4 separate regions of the Homo sapiens genome follow, and regions 1, 2 and 3 are each linked to region 4. The links are contacts of gene promoters, found by promoter capture Hi-C in human tissues and cell types (Jung and others, 2019). All regions are on one chromosome and are shown on one strand. Each heading gives the region's core, a stretch centred on a gene start or on the middle of the fragment in contact. The rest is flanking DNA. Distances are from core to core; before and after follow the strand shown. Region 1 has its middle 24 kb from the start of SLC7A2. Region 2 has its middle 42 kb from the start of SLC7A2. Region 3 overlaps MTMR7 (myotubularin related protein 7). Region 4 holds the start of MTMR7 (myotubularin related protein 7).

Region 1 (6,208 bases), core at 1,218-3,717, 60 kb before region 4:
ATATTAATAATTAATTTAAATGTAAATACATTAAACTGCCCAGTCAAAAAGTAGAGAGTCTCTAAATGGATAAAATACAAGATCAAGAGATACACTTTCTATGAGACTCACTTTAGGTGTAGGCACAGATAAACTGACAGAGAAAAAATGGAAAAAAATATCCCACGCCATTGGTAACCAAAATAAAGCAGGAGTGGTTATATTTTTGTATCATAGAAAATAGACTTTTCTTCAAAAACTGTTACTAGGGTCAAAAAAATTGTATGGTGATAAAAGGGTCAAATCAGCAGGAAGATATAATAATGTATATACAGCGAATATCAGAACACCTAAAAATAAAAAGCAAATATTGATAGATCTGTCTATCTATCTATAGATAGACAGAAAAATGATAATATGAGACTACTTCAATACTCCACTTATAATAATGGATAGTCTATCTGGACTCAAAAAAATCAGAAATGAAAGAAAAGACATTACAATGGCTACCTCAGAAATTAAAAAGATCATAAGGAGCTATTACGAACTATACATCAACAATTTAGATAACCTAGAAAAAATGGATAAATTGCAAGAAATATGAAACATATCAAGACTGAATCAAGAGAATTGGAAAGTTGGAAGATACTGATAACAAATAAGGAGATTGAATGAGTATTCAAAAAGTTTTCATAACAAAGAAAAGCCTAGGACCAGGTGGCTTCACTGATAAATTCCATGAAACATTTAAAATATTAACAGCAATCCTTCTCAAACTCTTCCAAAACGTGAAAAAAGAAGGAACACTTCCAAACTCATTTTATGAGACCAGCATTACCCTTATATCAAAGACAAACAAAGCCACCACAAGAAAAGAATGCTACAGGCTAGTATCTCTGATGAACTTACATGCAAAAATCCTCAATAAAATACTACCAATTCTAATTCATCACCACTTAAAAATGATCATACACTCTGATCAAGTGTGATTCATTGCTAAGATGCAAGGATGGTTCAACGTATGCAAATCAATCAATGTGATGTATCAGATTAACAGAGTGAAAGATAAAAACCACCTGATCATCTTGATGGATACAGAAAAAGCTTTTGACAAAATTCAACACCCTTTCATGATAAAACCTCTCAACACATTATATATAGAAGGAATTTACCTTCTATAATAAAGGCCATATATGAAAAAACTGGAACTTAACATTACACTTAATGATGAAACATGGCAGCTTGTTTTCTAAAATTAGAAATGAGAAAAGGATGTTCGCACTATTCATTTTTATTCAACATAGTACTGGAAGTCCTTGCCAGTGCAATTAGATGAGAAAAAGAAATAAAAGCCTTCTGAATTGTAAAGGAAGAATTAAAATAATCTCTCTTTGCAGACAACATGATCATATATGTACAAAACTCAAAAATTAAATACACATACACACACAAGTTAGAACTAATGAATAAATTCCTCACTGACTCAAGACGTTCAAACACAGCTTCTTATCAAAGGTATGCTATACAAAAAGCCACCTTCAATATCAATGAAGAGACAGAAATTGTATGTATCAAAGAACTAAATGGAAATTCCTAAAATTAAAACTGTAATAACCAAAGTAAAAAGTTTCATAGAGGAGAATAGAAGATTTGAACAGACAGAACAAAGAACAAACAGACTAGAAGATAGGTTATTAGAGAGGACACAATCTGGAGAAAGGAAAGAAACAAGAAAAAGAAAAATTCAAAGAGCCTCTGAGAAATATGTGGCCCATTATCAAGCAGTGGAAGGCAATATTTTCTCCTTTTTGAAACAATTACCAACAAAGAGCTGTTTGAATATTATTTCTATTCAATTATCTCTTTTTGCTTTCTCTGGAACACCAATATTAGGGTTCTTAGAACTGTTCATGTATTCCATAAACTTCTTGCTTTCTTATTTCTATGCTTTTTTTCTGTGTGCTTTGGGGTGGGGATTTTTTCATTGGCCTGTCTTCCGCTTAATTCTGTAATCTGACTGGTACAATCTACTGTTCAATTCATCTACTGAGTTCTTATAATAAATTGTAATTTCTAGTTCCAAAATACCCATTTGATAATTTCCAATTCACTGAGGAAACTCTACATTCTCTCTTACATTTTGTACATTTTTCTCTTTTTTTGAAATGTATTTATCATAGTCATTTTTTCATGTACTTTTGCTCCCCTGTCTGGATTATCTTGATGCTATTAAAAATTTCTCCTTCTTCTTTTTTTCCTTTTTCTCTAATAACAGGTAATAATTATTTTACTGTTAGCGTAAATAGAAATGTTTTATTATATGCAGGAAGTTGTGTAGAAAAAAACTGCAGAAGCTCTAGGTGTCTTCACTAGAGATTTTCTCCTCTTTCTCCTGTTAGGAAGATAGCATGAGGAGATGATTACCTAAACCAGTCATGGACTGAACCAGGTCACCGGTAAATGAGTTTTTTATTAACGCTTGGACTAATTCTCTTTTTTTAATACTGCTCAGACGTGGGTCTGCTAGATCCTCAACTAGGAGTCTACCTGACTGTATTTCCTCAGCTTTGAAAGATGTTGGGGACGAATCACTATCACTCAAAGTTTCCACCCCAGCTGTCCAGCCTTTTGCTAAAGAAAGTTCAAAATCAGAGAAGCATCTTAAAGAGACAGTACATATGCTGGAGACAAACCTATGTCTTGTGTCCAAAATATAACATGATTTTAGCTAACTAGTCTTTTTGAGAAAATGCAAGCTAGCTCACCAGCATCCCACAACGCCCTCAAATTCAGCAAATGTGAGTTGGGGGGAAATGGTTACAAATTGAAGGTTCCAAAATGTCTAATGTTTGAATTTAATCCTGTGTAGCAATTAAGAGGATTGGTGGGTTTTTCTCTCGGCAGAGGTCCTCGGACTGGGCTAAGCCTAATCCTTACTTCATATCCCACATCAGCAAGCAAACCAGAGGAAGAAACAGCTGGCAATACTCAACTCGTTTCACAATTGCTTTCCATGCCTGAAATTTAGTTCCTCTAGTCCTCCTTGTTGCTACAGCTCTCTGATGGCTTTAAAATATGATTTTTAAAGTTTAATTGGGATTTCCCCATTTTTTTTAACCTAGGGGAAACATGATTTGCTAAAATTTATTACATCCTACATAGAATTGTAAGCATCTTCTTTATCGTATTTTATAATCAAAGTTCCAAAGGAGTTGAGTGGCAAGTGTTAATAAGCTCTTTTTAGATTTTGAAGAAATTGAAGGGGATAGTGAGAAAAATTCCAAGCTTTCTGAGATCTGACTCCTTCCTCTGTTCTCTGCTTTACCAAGGTAGGCACTGTATCACGTAGACTTCAGACAGAAAATGGGAAACCACACCACTGAGATAGCCACGAATTACTAACAAGATGTAGCTCTCATGACTAGAGTGGAGATCAAATGGAAAAGATTGGAGTTATTGGAACCTAAAGCTTTGGAAAAGGTCCCCTGGTTCTAGGACTCCAACCTTGGAGGAGTGGGTCCAGCCAACTTGGGGTTGTAACCTCTGAAATTTGGTGTAGGGCTCAAAGACCGGGGACTCAGAACTGTGAGTGTAAGCTGTTTGTAGCTGTGCTAGTATCTCTGGGGCTGGCAATACTGTTGGTTCTGGGAGTTCCTAAATATATACAAAAAATAATGCAGAGACTGAAAGCTACTGTTGCTGCCAAGGTGAAAGCTGTTACTGTGGCAGCACTGACATAAACAGGAATCAAACTGTTCGCTTAGGTTTCCAGTCTCTCTCGTTCCTCTATTGACAGAAATGAATACGGAGAGGACTGGCAAAGAATTGCGATTTGTGGGTTCCCATTTTCCATGGGCACAGTAGGGACAGGAAGAGGGCTTGGAATTGAGACCGAGCAAGCTCACACACACACACACCCCCACCCCATCCACAAGTCGTGTCTTTGCTCAGAAAAAAAAACAAAGAGAAAAGTTCCACGAAAATTGCTTAAAGTGATGAAAACTAGAAATACACTGGGAATTACCTTTCTTTAATGGTGATTGTTAATCCTGAAACATGATAGATCTCTGGGTTTTTCTGTCAGTGGTCTCTGACACCGGCAATAACATTTCTACTGCCAGGAACTAAAAATTAATACACAGGATATTTCATTAAGGATTGAGTTTCTTTTCTGAAATTGTAAAAATTTCCTATTCTGTCTCAGATGGAGTCTGAACGTTTTGCTTTTCTTTCTCAGGTGAAGTTTGAACATTTTGCTCTTCTTTCTGATGTGGTTTTTGGCTCTTACTAAGCAAAATTAACAAATGTAAACAGAGACACACAGGAATTAATAAAAGTAGTATCAACAAAATTTTCTTGTGCAATCATAGTTTTGTTTTTTTCCTAGGGGATGGGCCACTGTCAACACTTCCTCCTGTGCCTTTTAACAGGCAGTAGGGTGGGGCCCACTTATAATTGCAATGACGATGTCTATTGTTGCAGATGCCTCTCATATTACAGGTCTCAGGTGAGCAAGTACTTTCCTCAAATGGCAGAGGGACACACTTCCTATGTGTACACACATGTTTTGAACCACACTCTGTGCCATCTTTCATTTCACCAATATCAGGTATGGTCATTCCAAAATGGTAGTCAGTACTCCAGCAGTTGATGCCGTTGAAGTGAGCCCAATGCATCATAGAATGATCTCTCGGAATGGGAATTTCTGTCACATTCTCACACTGAACTCTCCCACACAGGATATCTGAAATATTACATCTTACATATTTAGTGTTATTGAAACCACAGTGGCCAAACAGTCACCGTCGGTGTTCACCCTGTAGCAACTCTGATTTGCACTCTTGGCTACCTTCTCAAAAATGTGTTTACACTGTCCATCATGGTTTCTACATGCCTTTTGACAGCGGTAGCCACTGTCCATGCAACCAAGGCCATCCTGCACATACACATCTTCTGGACAATTATGCAAAGTTCCATCGCACCTCTCTGAAAGATCACATTCATTGTGCTTTTCTCTACACCAGTGTCCTGATGGAAGAAACTGTCAGTCTTTGCAACAAAGTCCAAAAGCGCAAGCAGCCCCAGGTTTCAGAGTACAGTTTGCCAAACAACACAGATCTTGAGTACACAAGAATAAAGATCCACAGTCACACTCCTCTCCTTCCTCAAACACACCGTTCCCACAGTACTTGTGTGTGAAGATGTTCTCTGGATTTGGCGAACCACGCAAACAGGTCGTTTTCACAGTGGTTGCGAACAACATCTCGTAACAGCAGTTGCTGAACCTATATGTGATGTTTACTGTCGGACACATTATGCATATTTTCTCCGCACATGTACATGGGATTCTATCATGTGGCGTACCCAAAGTATGGCCAAGCTCATGTGCCATAATGAATGCAAATCTAAGCATTTGGTCATCCAGGAAACTAACAACTCCACAATTACCAGCAAGACTACATCCTGTTCCGAGGTAGGATAAGCCAGCAAATCTACCATATCCTTTCTTCACAATAAGATGTACAGCATCATGTTTTATGTGGGAATTTAAGCTGACCTTCTTCCATTTGCAAAATTCTGGCAGGACTGCATATAGGTCATTTATTGCTATGGGGTTTCCTTCGATCGAAATCTCAATTCCAAGTAAAACCACAACAACTTCTACTGAAGAATAAAAGGCATCTACTTCATTGATAATAAGGCTTACATCCTTCTGCACATTTGAAATATTCCTTTTCTGATAAAGGAATCGTGTGCGGTCTACCACCACTGCCAGTTCAAGAAGCCATCTGTGGGTCCGCTAGCCCTCATAGGTGCTTTGCATCAGAGTGGAGTTATCACTGTCTTGAAACTTCAATTGTCGTGCTATTTCTTCTTCTGTTAATCCACATCCTAAGGGTGGGAATTGCGTCTCCTTGCTATCTAGCTTATACACCAGATGTTCAAATGTGGCAGAAAGCCTTTGGGCTTGATTTCATAAACAACATCATTTACTCGTGGTATTCCTTAAAAGACCCCAAAACAGGTGCTGAGAGCAACCAGGGACTCTGGGTCCCCTTCCATATAACCATGGTAGTAGCAATCACTTTGGACAAAAGGTTGGTTCTCAAGGAGAGCACCCTGATCAGTGTAACTGAACACAGAAAGGTATCTGGATATCAGATTCTTCTTGGCCTTCATGTGGACAATGTGTCTCTGTTCCCCAAAGCACAGGCTATATGAGAGCCAG
Region 2 (5,692 bases), core at 3,006-5,505, 41 kb before region 4:
ATGGTGGGTTACACTGACAGATTTTTGAATATTGAACCCACTTTGCATGTCTGATATAAATTCTATTTTGTCAAGGTGTTTTATTCTTTTTACATATTGTTGAATTGCTAAAATTTTGTTGAGCATTTTTGCATGTAAGTTCGTGAGAGTTATTGGTCTACAGTTTTCTTAGTCTGGTTTTGTTAGCAAGGTAATGATGGCCTTGTAAAAGGAATTAGGAAATATTCCTACCTCTTTCTGGAAGAGATTGTGCAAAATTGAAGTTAATTATTTAAACATCTGATAAAATTCTCCAGTGAAAGATTTTAAAATACAAATTCAATGTCTTTATAGTTATAGGACCATTTGTGTTATCTATTTCAGCTTTTTTGAGTATTGGTAGTTTTCGGAGTGTGGGAAAGCCGGGAAGGAAAAGCTTTTGGGTGAAGGTAATATTACTACAGTGGTAGGCATATTACACTTGAAAGTCAGCTCCAGGTTAAACACTCAGGACCAGATCCCACTTGTTACTTTTTTTCACCAATAGAGTTTCCAAACTCACTGATTTTCTGAAGGATCTGTTTTTTTTTGAGACGGAGTCTCGCTCTGTCGCCTAGGCTGGAGTTCAGTGGCACGATCTCGGCTCACTGCAAGCTCCGCCTCCTGGGTTCACGCCATCCTCCTACCTGGGTTCACACCATCCTCCTACCTCAGCCTCCCGAGTAGCTGGGACTACAGGCGCCAGCCATCACGCACAGCTATTTTTTTGTATTTTTAGTAGAGACAGGGTTTCACCATGTTAGCCAGGATGGTCTCAATCTCCTGACATTGTTACCCGCCTGACTCGGCCTCCCAAAGTGCTGGGATTACAGGCATGAGCCACCATGCCTGGCCCTGAAGGTTCTATTTTTATTCCTGTGTTTCTTTTTCAACAGTACACGTGACTACAGACAGCTGAGAGTGGGTAAGTGTGGCAGTAGCTATCAGTCTATATACGTAGTTTGGAAGTCAGTATCTGGTTTTATAATTTTAATGTGTGCTGATACAGGCGCCCCACCAATGGGAATCTGACACACTGCAAAACTCCCAGTTTTATTGCACGACCCCCTCCAAGGTGCACATAAACTGAGTCATGTACAGATACTGGACAGTGACAGAGTAGCCAAGCATCTGCCACACAATAGACTAAGGAGGAAAAATTCAACATCCCTTAAAACCCAATAAGCACTTCAAAAGACAACTCTAGGAAATTTGCTCTTCATTTTAATTTAAGAATACTGATTCCAGGCTGGATGCAATGTCTCACGCCTCTAATCCCTACACTTTGGGAAGCTGAGGCAGGAAGATCACTTGAGCCAGTTTGAGGCCAGCCTGGGAAACATGGTGAGAACCCGTATCTATAAAAAATAAACAAAATTAACTGGGTGTGATGGCATGTGCTTGTACTTCCAGCTACTCTGGAGGCTGAGGTGGGAGGATCGCTTGAGTCCAGGAAGTCAAGGCTGCAGTGAGCCATAATCACACTACTGAACTTCAGCCTGGGTGACAGAAGAAGACCTTGTTTCAAAAAAAAAAAAAAAAAATACTGATTACAAAAAGAAAAAAAAAAGGCTGAAATTTCTTTCTCAGGAACCTGATGTAAATGTTGAGAAAACTGTTGCTGGATTTTGGGAGGGGCAGGTCCCTGTTCCGTGTCCCTCTTTCAGCAGCATCAGAATGTTTTGGCCAAGAGTTTCTCAGTGCCACACCCTTGGAACCACGGTCACAGGCTTTTCCAATGTTTCCAGCCTCTGTGGCACCCGTATCCCAGACACAGATTTTAGTCACTCAAACCTTTGGCTTTTTAATCAGATCGTTGGCAAAGTTGCTATTTGCTGCTCACAAAGAATCCTGTCTTTGTGAAAAGCACACCTATAGATTTAGAAAGGTCTTTTCCCATTGTGGTTTCATGTGTAACGTGTCTTAGCAAATATTCACAGCATAGGTGCTACCCTCCAGAAGTAAATATGACCATCTACATTCATGAGGAATCAATTTTGTTAAGCCTGCTGGAAGAACACAGGACCCAAGGCTGTCAACCATGCTCAAGCCTGGTTGTGAGTAGTCATTAGACCATCAAGTGATCAAGGACCCTAGCTGGTCATAAATACCAGCCAGGAGTATCCAAAATCATCCTGTCTCATTTTACAATCACTTACACATTACTAAGTCAGTTCTTGGCCAGAATACTTTTAAAAATAGAATCCAGCTTTTATAGGTCACCATATTGGAGATTTTATTTTTAGTTTCAGAAGAATAAGACACTGGTGACTGTTGCAATTCCAAACATCACACATTGTAGGGGTTTGATCCTATAATGTTATAAACATTATAGAAATTTGATCACCATAATGCCACATAATTACCAGACTCTAGAGCTTGTATTTTATTCACCCTTTTGTTGTTGTGTTTAAGACATTTACAAAATAAGAATATTTGAATATTTAAATGAGGGATCCACTTCTAACTTTTTTTTTTTTTTTTTTTGAGACAGGGTCTCACTCTGTTGCCCAGGCTGGAGTGCAGTGGCTTGATCCTGGCTCACTGCAACCTTCACTTCCTGGGTTCAAGTGATCCTTCCACCTCAGCTTCCCCAGTAGCTGGGACTACAGGCATGCATCACCATTGTGGCTAATTTTTGTATTTTTTGGTAGATACAGTTTCACCATGTTGGCCAGGCTGGTGTCAAACTCCTGACATCATGCAATCCATCCACCTCAGCCTCCCAAAGTGCTGGGATTACAGGCATGAGCCACTGTGCCAGGCCCTCTAACATTTTTATTCAGACTTACTTTTGCTCTTTCCTGGTAGATCTTTTTGGTATTATTTTATAAAATGAAAGGCAAAACGGTGAGACACCTATTCTTTAATTAATAAGTTTATTAGCAGATAAGCTTACAGCAAAAATAATAGCAGATAAGCTGAAAGTGTTCAACATCCGTAGGTATGGTGACATGAAAAAGTTTGAATTTATTTCATCTATCACCTTGCACAGTGTGGCAAGTGGAAAGAGGCACTGTAGGTGCCAATCCAGCAATTACAGCTGGTTAAGCCTAAAACTACAAGAAAATATTCCCAATTTCTTCTTCCATGAACACATGTATCTTGTTTTGGATTATATTTTTCCACTGCATTTTGACCTTCATAAATATTTTTCAAGTCTGCTCTTTCTGTCCATATTATTATGTCTTTCTATTCCATTCTGGGAAGGAATGGGATCTGGAGTAGAAAGATGCCTCTGATTTCCCCAGGCAGAGAGAACACACCAAGGAGAAAGGTTGCGTTAGTGTTTTACCACCCTTTAAAATCGGTGCTTCCCAAGGGTCTGACCGAGACACTTATTAAAATTACTAATTCTCAATCTGGGCCTTTGAAGAGTCTTATTTGATAGGCTTAAAGTGGTACCCAGGGACTTCTCTCTCTCTCTCTCTTTTTTTTTTTTTTGAGATGGGGTCAAGCTCTGTCACCCAGGCGGGAGTGCAGTGGCACAATCATAACGCCCCGCAGCCTTGGCCTCACCGGCTCAAGCAATCCTCCGGCCTCAGCTTCCTGAGTAGCTGGGACTGCAGGTGTGAGCCACTGAATCGAGCTAATTTATTTTTTATTTTTTATTTTTATTTTTAGAGATGCAGTCTCGCTATATTGCCCAGGTTGGTCTTGAACTCCTGGTCTCAAGCAACCCTCTCACCTCGGCTCCCCGAAGTACTGAAATTGCATGCATAGGCCACTGCGCCCAGCCGGTCCTCTCATTCCTTAAGCTACTGGGACACTGTTGTCATCAGGGCAGTTTAGGATGAATTAAAGTAGGTTCAAAGAACACCTTTAAAGGATCAGGACCACCGAGGGAGGCTGTAGAGGTTGTAGTCTGCCCAGCCAAGTAGGGAGGAGTGGGACTGAAATTTTACCAGCCCTGATGGCCAAAAGGTTCTCATTGGCAAGACTGTGGGGAAACCTGAGAAATAAGGGCTCTTAAATTGGTCCACCCACCGGAGGCACCTTTTTCTCATTGGCACCACGCTGCGTGTGTGTCAGCTACTGGCCCGATCAGAATGGCCTACAGCTCTGATTATGTGCACAGATTCCTGGGTTCTTACCCCAGATCTGTTGAAACAGCATCTCTGGATTGGTTGTATTTTAAACTATCTCCTGCCACTCCCCACCACTGTGACTCTCATACACATAAAAGTTGGAGAACCACCAAGTGCTTAGATACAAAGCCTTTTTTTCTAATTTTTTTATTTTTTTTATTTTGTGAGAGTCTTGCTCCTTCACCCAGGCTGCAGTGCAGTGTCACAATCTCAGCTCGCTGCAACATCTGCCTCCCAAATTCAAGCAATTATCCTGCCTGAGCCTCCTGAGTAGCTGGGATTACAGGCACCCACCACCATACCCAGTTAATTTTTTTGTATTTTTGGTAGAGACAGGGTTTCACCATGTTGACCAGGCTGTTCTCGAACTCCTGACCTCAGGTGATATGCCCACCTCTGCTTCCTGAAGTCCTGGGATTACAGGCATGAGACACCGTGAGATCCAAAGCCCTTAAATAGCAAACTCTTTGACAGACATGACGTCATATTCTTTTCCTCCCTAATCTTTGTGGACTTTTCAACCCTCTTCAGAAGTTGCAAGCCTGAACCTGGAGGTGGAGGTTGCCATGAGTTGAGATCATGCCATCGCACTCCAGCTTGGGTGACAGATGAGGCTCTGTCTCAAAAAAAAAAAAAAGAAAAAAAGAAAAAGGAAAAAAAGAAGTTGCAGGTGGCACTGAACAGAAATTAGAAAGGACCCTAGTGCTCTAATAGTACGACCTGAAAAAGCAAAGTCCATAGGTCCTCAGTCCCTTGGGCCAAAAGGCATTCTACCAATTCCTAATACCTTTGGACCTGGAGTCTACTTATAATAAACATACAGACCCCAACTGTGACTGTCATTACTGGAGGTCAATAACCACTGCTCCTACCTGCACTGCTATGTCCATACAGAACCTATGTCTCCCTCAGTTTCCTCTTAGTTTCCACACTTTCCTGGATTCTGTTCCTTATGCTCCAGTCCTACTGCAACTCATTTCAAAGTTTGTCTCTATTCTCTGTAGATTTTGCAAGGTCCCTGAACCTCATCTTCTTTGATATTTCAACTTTTACCTGCTGCGTTGCTTTCCAACCATTGATTCTCTTTGTAGCTTTTCCTCCCCACCTCCCTGACTTCCCACCACCTGATTAACCTTTATCCACCCACAGTGTTCAGCTTTGTTCAACCTAAGTGCCAGGGACATGCCCTCAGGACATGCCCTCAGGACACACTGGCTTCCTTCCTGTGGGACAGAACAAACACCTCTGGATACCTACAGCCAGTGAGACTTCATGGGGGCTGCTCAGGTTCAGCTCTCCAGGAACAGATTTTGTTGAATTGTTTTCAATTTATTTATTTAGGTCTCTGACTTGGATGTTATTGTGTGTGAGTCCAGCACATTACACAAAGTGGTCACTGATTTAAAGCTTAGAGAAATGAGACACAAGACAAAGGTAAAAATTGAGACTCAAAGCAAAACTAAATGAACATCACTTCAGGTTTGCCTCTGGGTCTTCCGTTGTGATTTAAACTCCGCTGCCCCCTTTCTTAGAGCATTTTGATAGACTTTCCTTTTGAATCTACATCGCATGTTCCCCCTCAATCC
Region 3 (5,400 bases), core at 2,057-4,556, 60 kb after region 4:
CTATCCGTATGATTAAGTTAGTTTGTAACCATTAAAGGAAATGTGGAAGGTTCCTATGTACTGATAAAAATTGCTAAAATATATTGTTAGGTTAGAAAAAGCAAGACACAATATGGTGAATATAGTATAATACCTTTTGGCTTAACAAAGGAGGGAGAATAATAACACGTTTGCCCAAAAGTGATAACCTAGAGTGGTGTTGGTAATGGGGTGGATAGGACACAAGGATGAAAGTGGGATTTCTTCTCCTGCTCCAGCACCACTGGATGCAGTTTAGCATTGTTGTTCCTTTGCTTTTATTTGTAGCATTTTATGCACCTTTTGGTATTGTTTCATTTATATAACCATGTGGATTTATTAACTGGTCTTAACTTTGAGCCAAACTGATTGGTATGAATTGGATCTCGATGTGGTTTTTGCATTGACCTGATTGACTAGTGAGGTTAAGCTTGTGTTTCTTGGCTGTTCATGTTGACTCTTCTGTGAATTATCTACTCACATTTTTGCTCTTTTTTCTATAAGATTATTTGTTGTTTTCTTGTTGTAGTTCTTTATATAATGTAGCCAATAATTTGTTATAATTTATAGCTCTTGCAGATATCTTGTCTCAGGAGATTCTGATACACTGTTCCAAGTTTCTTCAGAAGTTTTGAGTTGTCAATCTTTCTTACCATGTTTTGTCTTTTAGCATACTGTTTTTTTTTTTAATTTTTTAATCCTGGTCTGTTTGCTAAACTTTGTCCCAATTTGACGCTGTATAAATCCCACAATTATATTTTTACCAGTTATGATTATTATGGCTTTATAATCTTGATACTTAAAAGTCAGTTCTTTGACATAATTCATCAGGATATCTTGAATTTATGGATTATTTGGGCTAGAATGGACACTTCCATGACACTGAATCTTCCTCTTAATTACACTTAAATTTAACAACCATAAAGTTAATTATTATAAAGTATCTGACTCATGTAATCAGACTAATTTGTTCTCATACTAAAGCTAACTTTTGCAGTGAATTTTTAGCCTTGAAAGAAAGGAAAATCCAAGTTTAGTAAAGAAAATTGGATACTCTTTTTGTTAATATGACACATCCTTGGGCAAGGAAGAAAATGAGACTGAACCACATCTTGTGGAATAACGTCTCCTTGGAAATACAGGTTCTTCTGTTTTTGATGAGATTTCCTTCTAGAATTAGCGCATAAACATGACTCATATATAGTCACTTAAGTCCTACGTTGCACAGCCTGCAAAACATGAGTTACTCAGCATTTCTTTTCAGAAGCAACACACAGCAAAACAAAACTAACAGCAAAACAAAACTAACAAGGAACAAACTGTTTTGAAGCAGAAAAGGTAAAAACCTAGGGGATTTTCTGATTTTGCAAATATCACCGAAATGGGAGGAAGATGATGTATCCTGATTTGTCACTAACTTAGCAAGAGAACACAAGTTGTCTTATTTCAGAAAATTTTTGACTAATAATCCATGGAGAGAGAGATATCCAAATCCATTCCTTTTGCTTTTGACCCCATGGCTGAGAAAACGTTTACTTTTTCCTCTCTTGTTTGACAACTTATCTTATTTCTTCTCACAAATCCTTTGAGGTCGGTGGGTCAGGAAGTGTCATTTGATGGAAAAGAAACAATTGTCGATGGTGGAAATAACAGCAGACGTAGAATACAAAACTTAGATTCTAGAACCAATTCTGCTATTTTCTTTGGCCTTGGGCAGGCTAATTATTACTATTATCTGTATCATCTTACCACCATCGCTATTTATAAGACACTTGCTTATGGTAGTCTAAGTCTCTAAGCTCAGATTTCTTTTTTTACCTAACCCTTGAAATTGTCTTTATTTAAATAAAGTAATTTGTATTCATTGCTAGGTTAAAGTTTTAATCTAACTCTCTTGGAATAAAATATAAAATACAACCCAAACCAGTCAGTTTATTAAAGCTCATTTATTTCAGTTCTCCACAGCTATATTTTATGTATCATGCATTATTTTGTTTTATTCACATATATGTCATTTTATCCTGTTCATAACCTCCTCCTTCTCCCTGTTCATCATAAATTCCTTGAAATAAATTTTAGCACTGAAATGTTTAAGAAGATTGTCTGTATAGATATCTCTCAGTTTCTGACAACTCTTACCCTACAGTGCTCAGATGAATGATTGGTCCTTGGAGGGCTGAGTGACACTTTTGGATTGCATCTTAGATGGCTAGTAGCCTGCAGTGATAAATATATTTACTGGAAGATTCTAACTTGGTTAACAAAGATCAGCTGTCCTGGGAGTGTGAAATCTTCAAGGCCAAAAACTCTTACTCATTTCTGCTCTTGCAGCTGAGAGTAATGCCTGGCGTATAGTAAGTACTCAGTAAAAGCTTGTTGAATGAGTGAAAGAGTTACCAAAAGATTCCCCTTGCCAGGACAGCACCAAGGGATGTGGGCACTCCAGGAAGGTCAATTAATTTAGTGGAGCACAAAGAAAATCGGTTTCCTTATTCATTTTAAAAAATGGCAAAGTGATTAACTGACTAATCCACTTTCATTAACTAAGGCAGAGTGCATGTAAAGAAAATTCAGGAGAAAAACATTTTCCATTCCTCTGAACTTCTCATATTCTCTCTGAATTTTGTCAGGTGGTTTTCCAAACCAGACAAAATCCTGAGAGGCATACTGAGGTGTTTGAAAATTAGCGACATATGTTGCATCATTGTGCGCATTATGTATTGTCAGAGTTTTGACTACAACTCTGTGAGCTTGTTGCAAAAATGGCAGCAGTCAATGCTAAGATTGTTTTCCCTTTTCTTTTTTCATTGTGATTTAAAAAATGCATAACGTAAAGTTTGCCATCTTAGTCATTTTTAAGGTATAGTTTAGGAGTGTTAAGTAGATTGACATTCTTGTACTATAATAGATCTCTGGAACTTTTCAACTCCAGAACTGATACTCTATACCCATTAAACAACTCCCCATTCCCACCTACCACAGCCCCTGGCAACCATCATTCTACTTTTTGTTTCTATGAATTTGACTACTTTAGATACCTCATATAAGTGGAATCATACAGTATTTTCTTTTTGTGACAGGCTTATGTCATTTAATGTCCTCAAGGTTCATCTGTGTTATAGCATGTAACAGGATTTCCTTCCTTTTTAGGGCTGAATAATATTTCATTGTAATGATATACCACATTTTGCTTATCCATTCATCACTTGATGGACATCTGGGTTGCTTCCACCTCTTGGCTGTGAATAATGCTCTGCGGATATGGTTGTGCAAGTATCTCTTGGAGATTCTGCTTTCAAGTCCTTTGGGCATACATCCAGAAGTGAGATTGCTGGATCATGTAGGAATTCTATTTTTAAATTCCTGAAGAGCCTCCATGCTGTTGTCCATAGTGGTTACATAATTTTATATCCCCATCCACAGTGCACTAGGGTTTCAATTTATCTGAGTGCTCACCAGTACTAGTTTTATTATGTTTTCATTCTTTCATTTTGTAATAGTGGCCATCCTAACAATTGTGAGTTAGCATCTCATTGTGGTTTTGATTTTGATTTCCCTAAGATACGCAATTTACTAATAGCTTCTCACATTCTGTAGGTTGCTTTTTCACTTTTGATTGTGTCCTTTGATGTATAAAAGTTTTTAAGTTTGATATGGTTCCATTTGTCTAGTATTTTCTTTTGTTGTCTCTGCTTTTGCTGTCATACATAATAAATCAGTGCCAACTCCAATGTCATAAAGCTTGTCCCTTATGTTCTTTTCTAGGAGTTTAATACTTTTGGGTCTTATGTTTAGGTCTTTAGTCCATTTTGAGTTAATTTTTTTATATAGTACAAGATATGACCCATCGTTATTTTATTTTACTTTTGCATGTGGGTATCTAGTTTTCCCAGTACCATCTGTTGAAGAGACTAATCTTACCCCATTGAGTAGTCTTGGCACCCATGCTATGGATCATATGACCATATACATGAGGGTTTACTTCTGGGTTCTCTATTCCATTGGCCTATTTGTCTGTCTTTATTCCAGTACCACACTGTTTGATTGCTGCAAAATAGATATGGCTTTGTACTATATTTTGAAATTATGAAGTGTAAGTCCTCTTTGTTCTTTTTCAAAATCGTTTTTTGCTATTTGGGGTCCCTGGAGAATCCATGTAAATTTTAGGATGAATTTTTCTACTTCTGCACAAAATGCCCTTGAGATTTTGATAGGGATTGCCTTGTGGTTGCTTTGTGTAGGATGGACATCTTCACAATATTAAGTCTTCCAGTGCATGAACACAGGTATCTTACCATTTACTTGTGTCTTTAATTCCTTTCAGTGGTGTTTTATATTTTCAAGGTAGGATTGTTATTTTAATTTCCACTTGAGAGTGCTGTCTACTTTGATGAAAGCAGGACAAATATCCATGCTTCTAGCTTGGTAAGAGGTTGTATCTTCCCGTGTTAACTGACACCCTAAATCTGCTTTTCTCAAATGCATTCTAGCTTCTTAGAGTTCCCCGAGCAAGTACTCATCAGAATGCCTTATAACTTAAGCTGTGACCCATGGAGCTTTTTCCCCTAGACCCAGTGCTCTGGGGAAGGCAGAAATCCTCATAACTGGTATTGTGTTCATAGAGGGGAGGCCTCCACATCTGATGCAAGCCTGGCCATTGGTGACTGGGCGCAGGTTGTTGAGCTCTTTGTCCTGGCACATGCCAAGCCATCAAAATCTACATACCTCTACTCTGCAGAGTGAGAGCTCTGGTGCTCTTAGAGGGCAGGAGGTGGTCTTCTTGCTCCTTTGTGAATCAAGAGGGCCCTGAGTTGGGGCCAAGGAGAGTGGGCCTCTGGGTGTTGATTTTCTCTGTTTGGTCTCATTCCAGCTATGGTGCACACAGGGCCTTGATGCCAGTGAACCTAGGTGTTTATTTAGCCTTAGAAGACCATAAAAGGGCCTAGCAGGAGCTTATCTCTTGCTCTTCAAAGAGGCTGTCTGAAATAAGCATGTTGACAAATCTTGCATGTTACTGTTATTTAATCATGAAACTTTGCAGTTCCTTAGTGTTGTTACAAGGAAGAATGTAGGTAATTCCCAACTTGCTGAAAACCTACTCATTTCCTTTTAAAAACTGTTATTTTAGGAAAATGTTGTTGGTCTGGTGCAATGACTACATGTCTCTTGAACCTCAAACAAACAGGTGTGGTCCACGTCATAGTCTTCTAGCTGGCTGACTTCATGGAGGTTCAGACACCAGATTGGCAAGGGGGAGGGAGTGCCGTGTTTTATGGCAGTCTTCCCAGCTAAAGCTCTCTGAGTCCAAGTTGGTTGAGCCTTCTGTTCTTGGCAGATTTTCCTTTAGAGTGTCAGTGCCACAGGCCATGTTAAACTCTTTGG
Region 4 (5,991 bases), core at 2,934-5,433:
ATTTTTATTGTCCGCATCCCTCCTGAAGGTTCCACTTCCCAAAGGTCCCATCTCCTGATACCATCCACTTGGTTGTTAGGATTTCAACATACGCATTTTGGGGAGACGCAAACATAGCATTATCATTATTCCATCTTATAGGCAAGAAGCTTAAAACTGAGAGTGGTTAAATAACTTGGTTCAGGTCACACAGCTAACACGTGCCAGAGTCGTGATTTGAATATAGGTCTTTCTGCCTTCAGAACCCATGTTTTTCACTTTATCTGGTTTGTGACATTAGGGTTATTGATGGGACATCCAAGTAGAGGTACTCAGCAGGTAGACAGAAATATAATATGGCTTGTAGGAAGAGAATCCAGGACTGGAAATACTGATACAGGAATTATCTGCATCCAAGTGATGGTTGAAAGGATAGAAGTGGGAAGGGAATAAGAAAATAAGTGTCCTGGGTGCATGTGGTGACTCACGCCTGCAATCCCAGCACTTTGAGAGGCCGAGGTGGGTGGATCACTTGAGGTCAGCAGTTCGAGACCAGCCTGGCCAACATGGTGTAAACCTGTCTCTACTAAAAAATACAAAGATTAGCTAGGCATGGTGGCAGATGCCTGTAATCCAGCTACTCGGGAAGCTGAGGCACAGAATTGCTTGAACCTGAGAGGCAGAGTTTGCAGTAAGATGACATTGTGCCCCTGCACTCTAGCCTGGGCAACAGTGAGATTCATCTCAAAAAAAAAAAAAAAAAAAAAAAAAAAAAAAAGGAAATGAAATAAGTGTTCTGAAGACACAGTCTTGAACTTGAGTTGTATGCCTTCCTGAAGGCAGAACAAAATACAGGAGACTACTTTGCTGTTTTAATTATTTTTAAATGTTAAAATATTTTATTATAAAAGGTTTTATTCTTATATGTAATCAACATATAATTGCACATATTTATGGGATACAGTGTGATATTTTGATACACATATACACTGTGTAATGAGCTAATCAGGGTAATTAGCATATCCATCACCTCAAACATTGATCATTTCTTTGTGGTGAGAACATTCAAAGTCCTCTTTTCTAGTTATTTTCAGATATACAATAAAATATTGTTAACTATAGTCACCATACTATGGAATAAAACACCAGAACTTATTCTTTCCATCTAACTGTAATTTTGTACTCACTGACCCATCTCTTCACATACCCACCTCTCCCCGATTTTCCCTAGCCTCTGGTAGCCAGTATTTTACTCTGGACGCCCATGAGATCAGCTTTTTAAGATTCCACAAATGAGTGGGATCACACGGTATGGGTCTTTCTGTGCCTTGCTTATTTCACTTATAATGTCCTCAAGGTTCATCCATATTGTCACAAATGACAGGGTTTCATTCTTTGTGGCTGGATAGTATTACACTATGTATCTCTACAAAATGTTCTTTATCTATTCATCCATTGATGGACAGTTAGGTTGATTTCATATTTGGCCATTGTGAATAGTGCTGCAATAAACATGGGAGTGCAGATATTTCTTCAACATAGTGATTTCATTTCCTTTGGATAAATACCCACTGGTGAGATTGCTGGATCGTACGGTAGCTCTATTTTTCATTTTTTGAGGAAGCTCTATACTGTTTTCTATAATGGCTGTACTAATTTACAGTCCTGCCAACAGTGCATAAGGGTTCCCATTTCTTTGCCTCCTTGCCAGCATTAGTTATTGTTAGTCTTTTTGATCATAGTCAGTCTAATTGGGGTGAGGTGATAGCTCACTGTGGTTTTGATTTGCATTTTCCTAATCATTAGTGATACTGAGTATTTTTTCATAGACCTGTTAGTCATTTGTAGGTCTCATATTGAGAAATCTCTGTTCAGTTTTTTTTGCCCATTTTTAAATCAGACTATTTGGTTTTTCTGCTGTTGAGTTGTTTGAATTCCTTTTATATTCTGGATATTAACCCCTTGGCAAATGCGTAGTTTGCAAATATTTTCTCCCCTTGTGTAGGCTGTCTCTTTACTCTGTCGTTTCCTTTATTGTATAGAAGCTTTTAAATTTAATGTAATCCCATTTGTCTCTTTCTGCCTTTGCTGCCTATGCTTTTGAGTTCTTATCCCAAAAATCCTCGCCAAGACCAATGTCTTGAAGAGTTTCCCCTATGTTTTATTCCAGCAGTTTCACAGTTTTGGGAGGAGGCTATTTTAAAGCCTTGACTGTTCACAGAGTAAACACTCTTTTCATGCTGCCCTAGAATTTCCCTTTTGGCTGCTAGAAAAAGGGCAGAGCTGACTGCAATCCACTGAGTGCTTTTCCTCCACATCTTTGTTATAGGGCAAGGCCAACAGAGACATTGATACATTGCATCATTGAGTTCATAAAAATCCTGAAGAGAGGCCGCTTTTACTTTTTGCCAGGCAGAACCCCAAATGCAGCTCTGACCCTATCATACTGAGTGACTCCAGATGAGGCTGAGTTTATTCAGAGATGTGTTCCCTCCTCCACTTATAATATGGTCCATTTGGGTTTAATTACGCTGAATAGGATCGTATTGAGTTTGTAATAATTAGCAATACCATCCCTAAGGAAACAGGGTTTGGTCTCACTGCCAAATCAGAAGTTTGCCTTGCCTCAAGAGAAATATAAGTATTCTGGAAAAAGTCTTGCAAGTGTTTTTGATAAGAATTCAAATCTCCTCAGGCCATTGAATATCACAGGATTTTGGGAAAATGCCCAGTTAAAATCAAGGTTGTATTTTAAAATTCTGTTAGCAAAAGTATTTGCAACTGAATTATCTATGTGATAAAAGTTGCATAAGAAGAATTCTCTAGAAGACGTTTGGTAACTTGCAATCAAGTAGTTTAGGTCTTGCTTATGGTTAGGTGTCCCTAGAGATCTTTAAAGGCATTACCAACTCCCTCTTTAAAAAAATCACAAACACAAAGGTAGAGACAGTGCATTATTTTGACTCTCAAATTCCCTTTCCACTTCAACATAGTATAGGCTAGGCTCAATTCAGCGTTAAAGTTCAGTGGCTTTATGTGACAACAACAACGAAAGTGTTCTTTTCACTTCCAAAAGAATCAGCTGTGGCTTTCCAGAGTAGTTCTTCTAATAATGTAAACTAATGGTAAACTTGTTCTAATTGCCTCCCAAAGCAGTAGGAGGATGAAATGGTAGAAGACCTGTGAAAGAGGGATCTGGAATTTTAAAAATAAATTCAACACCGTATTAATTATTTGCTGGAAGGCTGCAATGTGTCCAGGTATTAGATAAAAAAACGGTAAGCAGAGTCTCTACGGAAAAAAAAAAAAAATCACAATCCAGCCTGAAAGATGAGTAAGAGCGAGGAAAAAATTGAACAGAACTATGTAGAATTCTATAAAATTTCACTTATGGTGGAGCATTGTACTCTTAGGGCTGCAAGAAAAAAAAAATGGAGGGCGTTCTTCCTCTCTTTGGCTTTTCCCAAGAGGCCTAACGCTAACAATGGCACCAACTACTGTTAATACCATCAATAGGGAAATGGTACCGCATAATGGATGCTTTGTATCTCTATCTCTCAGTTCAGTTGGAGCTAAATAAAGAGGGCAAATGAGCACCCAACACTGTGCCAGGGGAAAAGTGTCGCCTGCAACAGTGAAGTCGCAGGTGGATGTGAGATGCCTGACTTAGGAGCGCGCTTACCAAGGCGCTAACACTGCTGCTATTATTTCCACCCGCACCCCGAGCGCTATGCCGGCCGCGCCTGGGATGAAACACACACATTGAGCCTACAAGACCGTCCTGGGTCTAGAGTGTCTGTGGCAGCCTTCTTTTCTGCCCCACCCTGAAATCCTAGCTATCCCAGGACGCCCTAGAAGGAAGCCCAGGGACGGTGTGGAGCAGCCTGTACTCCCCATCTCTCTTCCAGGAGGCCACACCCAAAACAAGGCCCTCTTTGTGTCTCGGAGAACAGTGGCCGTATAGTGCTCCGCCGGCTGCCCCTGTTAAGAGAGAGCGAGCAGCCCTCGCCCCGGCAACCCCAGGCAGAGGCGCGTCGCGGCGGCGGCGCAGGTGGGCGCAGGCGCGGAGGTGGGCTCTCTAGGGCCGCGCGGGAGCCCCGGGTCCGCACGCCGCGCGCGGAACACCTGGGGGCGGAGCCAAGACCGCGTCCCGCCCACTCCCGGGCGCGAAGCCCCCTCCCCGCGCCCCTCCCATCGCGCCGCAGAGGCGCGCAGGTGCGTGAGGCCGCGCCCGCCCGGGACCCTGCAGACGTGGGCCAGCCATGGAGCACATCCGTACGCCCAAGGTTGGTGACACCAGCGCGGGCGGAGGAGGGACGGGAGGAGATGGGGGAGGAGGAGGAGGGATGCTGAGCGCGCGGGAGGCCGACTGCTTTGAGGGGCACCGGCGGAGCCTGGACCGCGGGCGAGGGAGGAGCAGGCATTGCCTGAGCATCCCGGGGTGCCTGCGAGCCCGGTCGTTCTCTTGCTGCCTCCCAGGCCTAGCCTTAGCTGCTGCTGGGTCTGACCTCTTGGTTTTGGGGGAGCGCAGTGGACACAAGGGTGAACGGGAGGGAACCTCAGTTGTCTGCTAGTAACTGGGTGTAGATCAACCCTTCTTTCTCCTGGCACGAGGCTTTCTCTTTTAGCTGTTGGCCGCTCAGAGTAGTTGAAAGGGAAATAAGCCTTTCGGTGACAGGTGCAAGGAAAACGAGCTAAATGCAGAGGGACTCCTGCGCTTGGAAGCTTGTTAAATCTAGGGTGTCAGGCCCACCCGGCTCGGCCTTCCCAGTCAGCATCCTCATCCTGAGCGTAGCAGCTGCAAGGGGCCTTACACAGAACGGATAATCAATATTCATTGTAGGTTGAATGATGGTGTGTTCTTGCCTTTTCCAGTCCGTTTTGTTCGTTAGAGAAAAGGATGCAGCTTACGGATTCGTCACGCACTGTTGTGTTTTAACAACACCAGCTTTTGCTAATTAACAAAAGCAAATGGTCCCTGATCACTCCAGTAAATTAACATTGGAAACGTTGATCGCTGTACCAAATCTTCCTCCTCAGTTGTACTGATAATCTAATTTAGAATGAAAATGATGATCGACGTTACTGCATGATAAAAACCCTAAACGAGTGAAAGAATATGCTTAAAAACCCTATTGGCTGTCTGTTGTTACTACCACCACAGCTCCTTGCGTTTTTGCAGGATGAACTTCCATTCAAAATGTAGGCCCCTGACAGGTCAAAGCTAGGTCAGAGTGGCCATAGCTCAGGTGGTTCCAGGGATCCCACACATTTAAGAGGGGTGGGGGCAATTGCTTTATGGCCAGCAAGAATTGATTCCTAAATTTTGGAATAGTTCCTGAGTACCTTTTTGTAAAAGCAGATTAAAATGATCTCATGTCATTGGAAGAAGAAATCTTTTAGTTTGCTGGAGAATGTCAGTTCCGACAGTAAATTTAAATTGTATTGATTTTGCACTAGGGAATTAAGTTGTCGCTTCACAATCATGAAATTGTAAACTTAGAAGACAATGCTACAAACCACAGAATAGGTGGCTCAAAGCTTTCAGAGTTTAAGTGGTACTAAATAATTTATTCCAGAAGGGTGAATTTAACTCATGGACTCTGCCCTTGCCAAGGGCATTCTTCCTCCTTCCATGATGAAGGGAGCCGTTTGTAAAAGTGATAGCTGTTGTGGATATTGATAGCAAGAATGATACAGTGACATGGCAGTGGATGCCACTTTGTTAGAGAATATGAATTTGGGGGAGTCAAGGCCTTTTCTGTTCTATATACAAAGCCACCTGGTACAAAGTCACGTGTGAACCTGAGTTGCAAGCAGTGTTCTTACTCTTAAAATTGGTGTTTATGGATACCCTCTAAGCAGTGCAGTACTTGAAGTCAGAAATCCTTATTTATCTGGAAATGGAAACAAATTGGGGGAAAATGGAAAATTGTCTGAAGTGTTACTGAATTGGGTGAGTCATTAACATTTGGGATAAAGCTGGTGAAAAAAATAAGAAATTACAGAGGT

Evidence for each region. The method cuts DNA at HindIII sites, captures the fragments that hold promoters and counts their contacts. A contact is called where the count stands out against the background at its distance.
Region 1: a fragment that was not itself captured here is called in contact with the fragment with the promoter of MTMR7 in region 4 in 1 of the 25 tissues and cell types used here (heart left ventricle).
Region 2: a contact is called between a fragment that was not itself captured here and the fragment with the promoter of MTMR7 in region 4, in 1 of the 25 tissues and cell types used here (neural progenitor cells).
Region 3: a contact is called between a fragment that was not itself captured here and the fragment with the promoter of MTMR7 in region 4, in 1 of the 25 tissues and cell types used here (adrenal gland).

The regions. Positions count from the first base shown.
Region 1 is chr8:17,469,664-17,475,871 of GRCh38, reverse strand. It overlaps the pseudogene ADAM24P. Among named protein-coding and RNA genes, the nearest start is that of SLC7A2, 24 kb to the left of the region's middle. The HindIII fragment of the contact is 4,731 bases long and covers 102-4,832 here.
Region 2 is chr8:17,452,506-17,458,197 of GRCh38, reverse strand. No RefSeq gene overlaps it. Among named protein-coding and RNA genes, the nearest start is that of SLC7A2, 42 kb to the left of the region's middle. The HindIII fragment of the contact is 5,181 bases long and covers 1,665-5,692 here.
Region 3 is chr8:17,350,880-17,356,279 of GRCh38, reverse strand. The region is part of intron 4 of MTMR7 (myotubularin related protein 7); the gene reads left to right. The region is part of intron 1 of LOC102724838 (a long non-coding RNA gene); the gene reads right to left. Among named protein-coding and RNA genes, the nearest start is that of MTMR7, 60 kb to the left of the region's middle. The HindIII fragment of the contact is 3,773 bases long and covers 1,420-5,192 here.
Region 4 is chr8:17,411,543-17,417,533 of GRCh38, reverse strand. It overlaps MTMR7 (myotubularin related protein 7), which reads left to right and starts at 4,183. Exons shown (of 14, transcript NM_004686.5): 1 at 4,183-4,265. The coding sequence starts at 4,242. The HindIII fragment of the contact is 4,025 bases long and covers 1,088-5,112 here.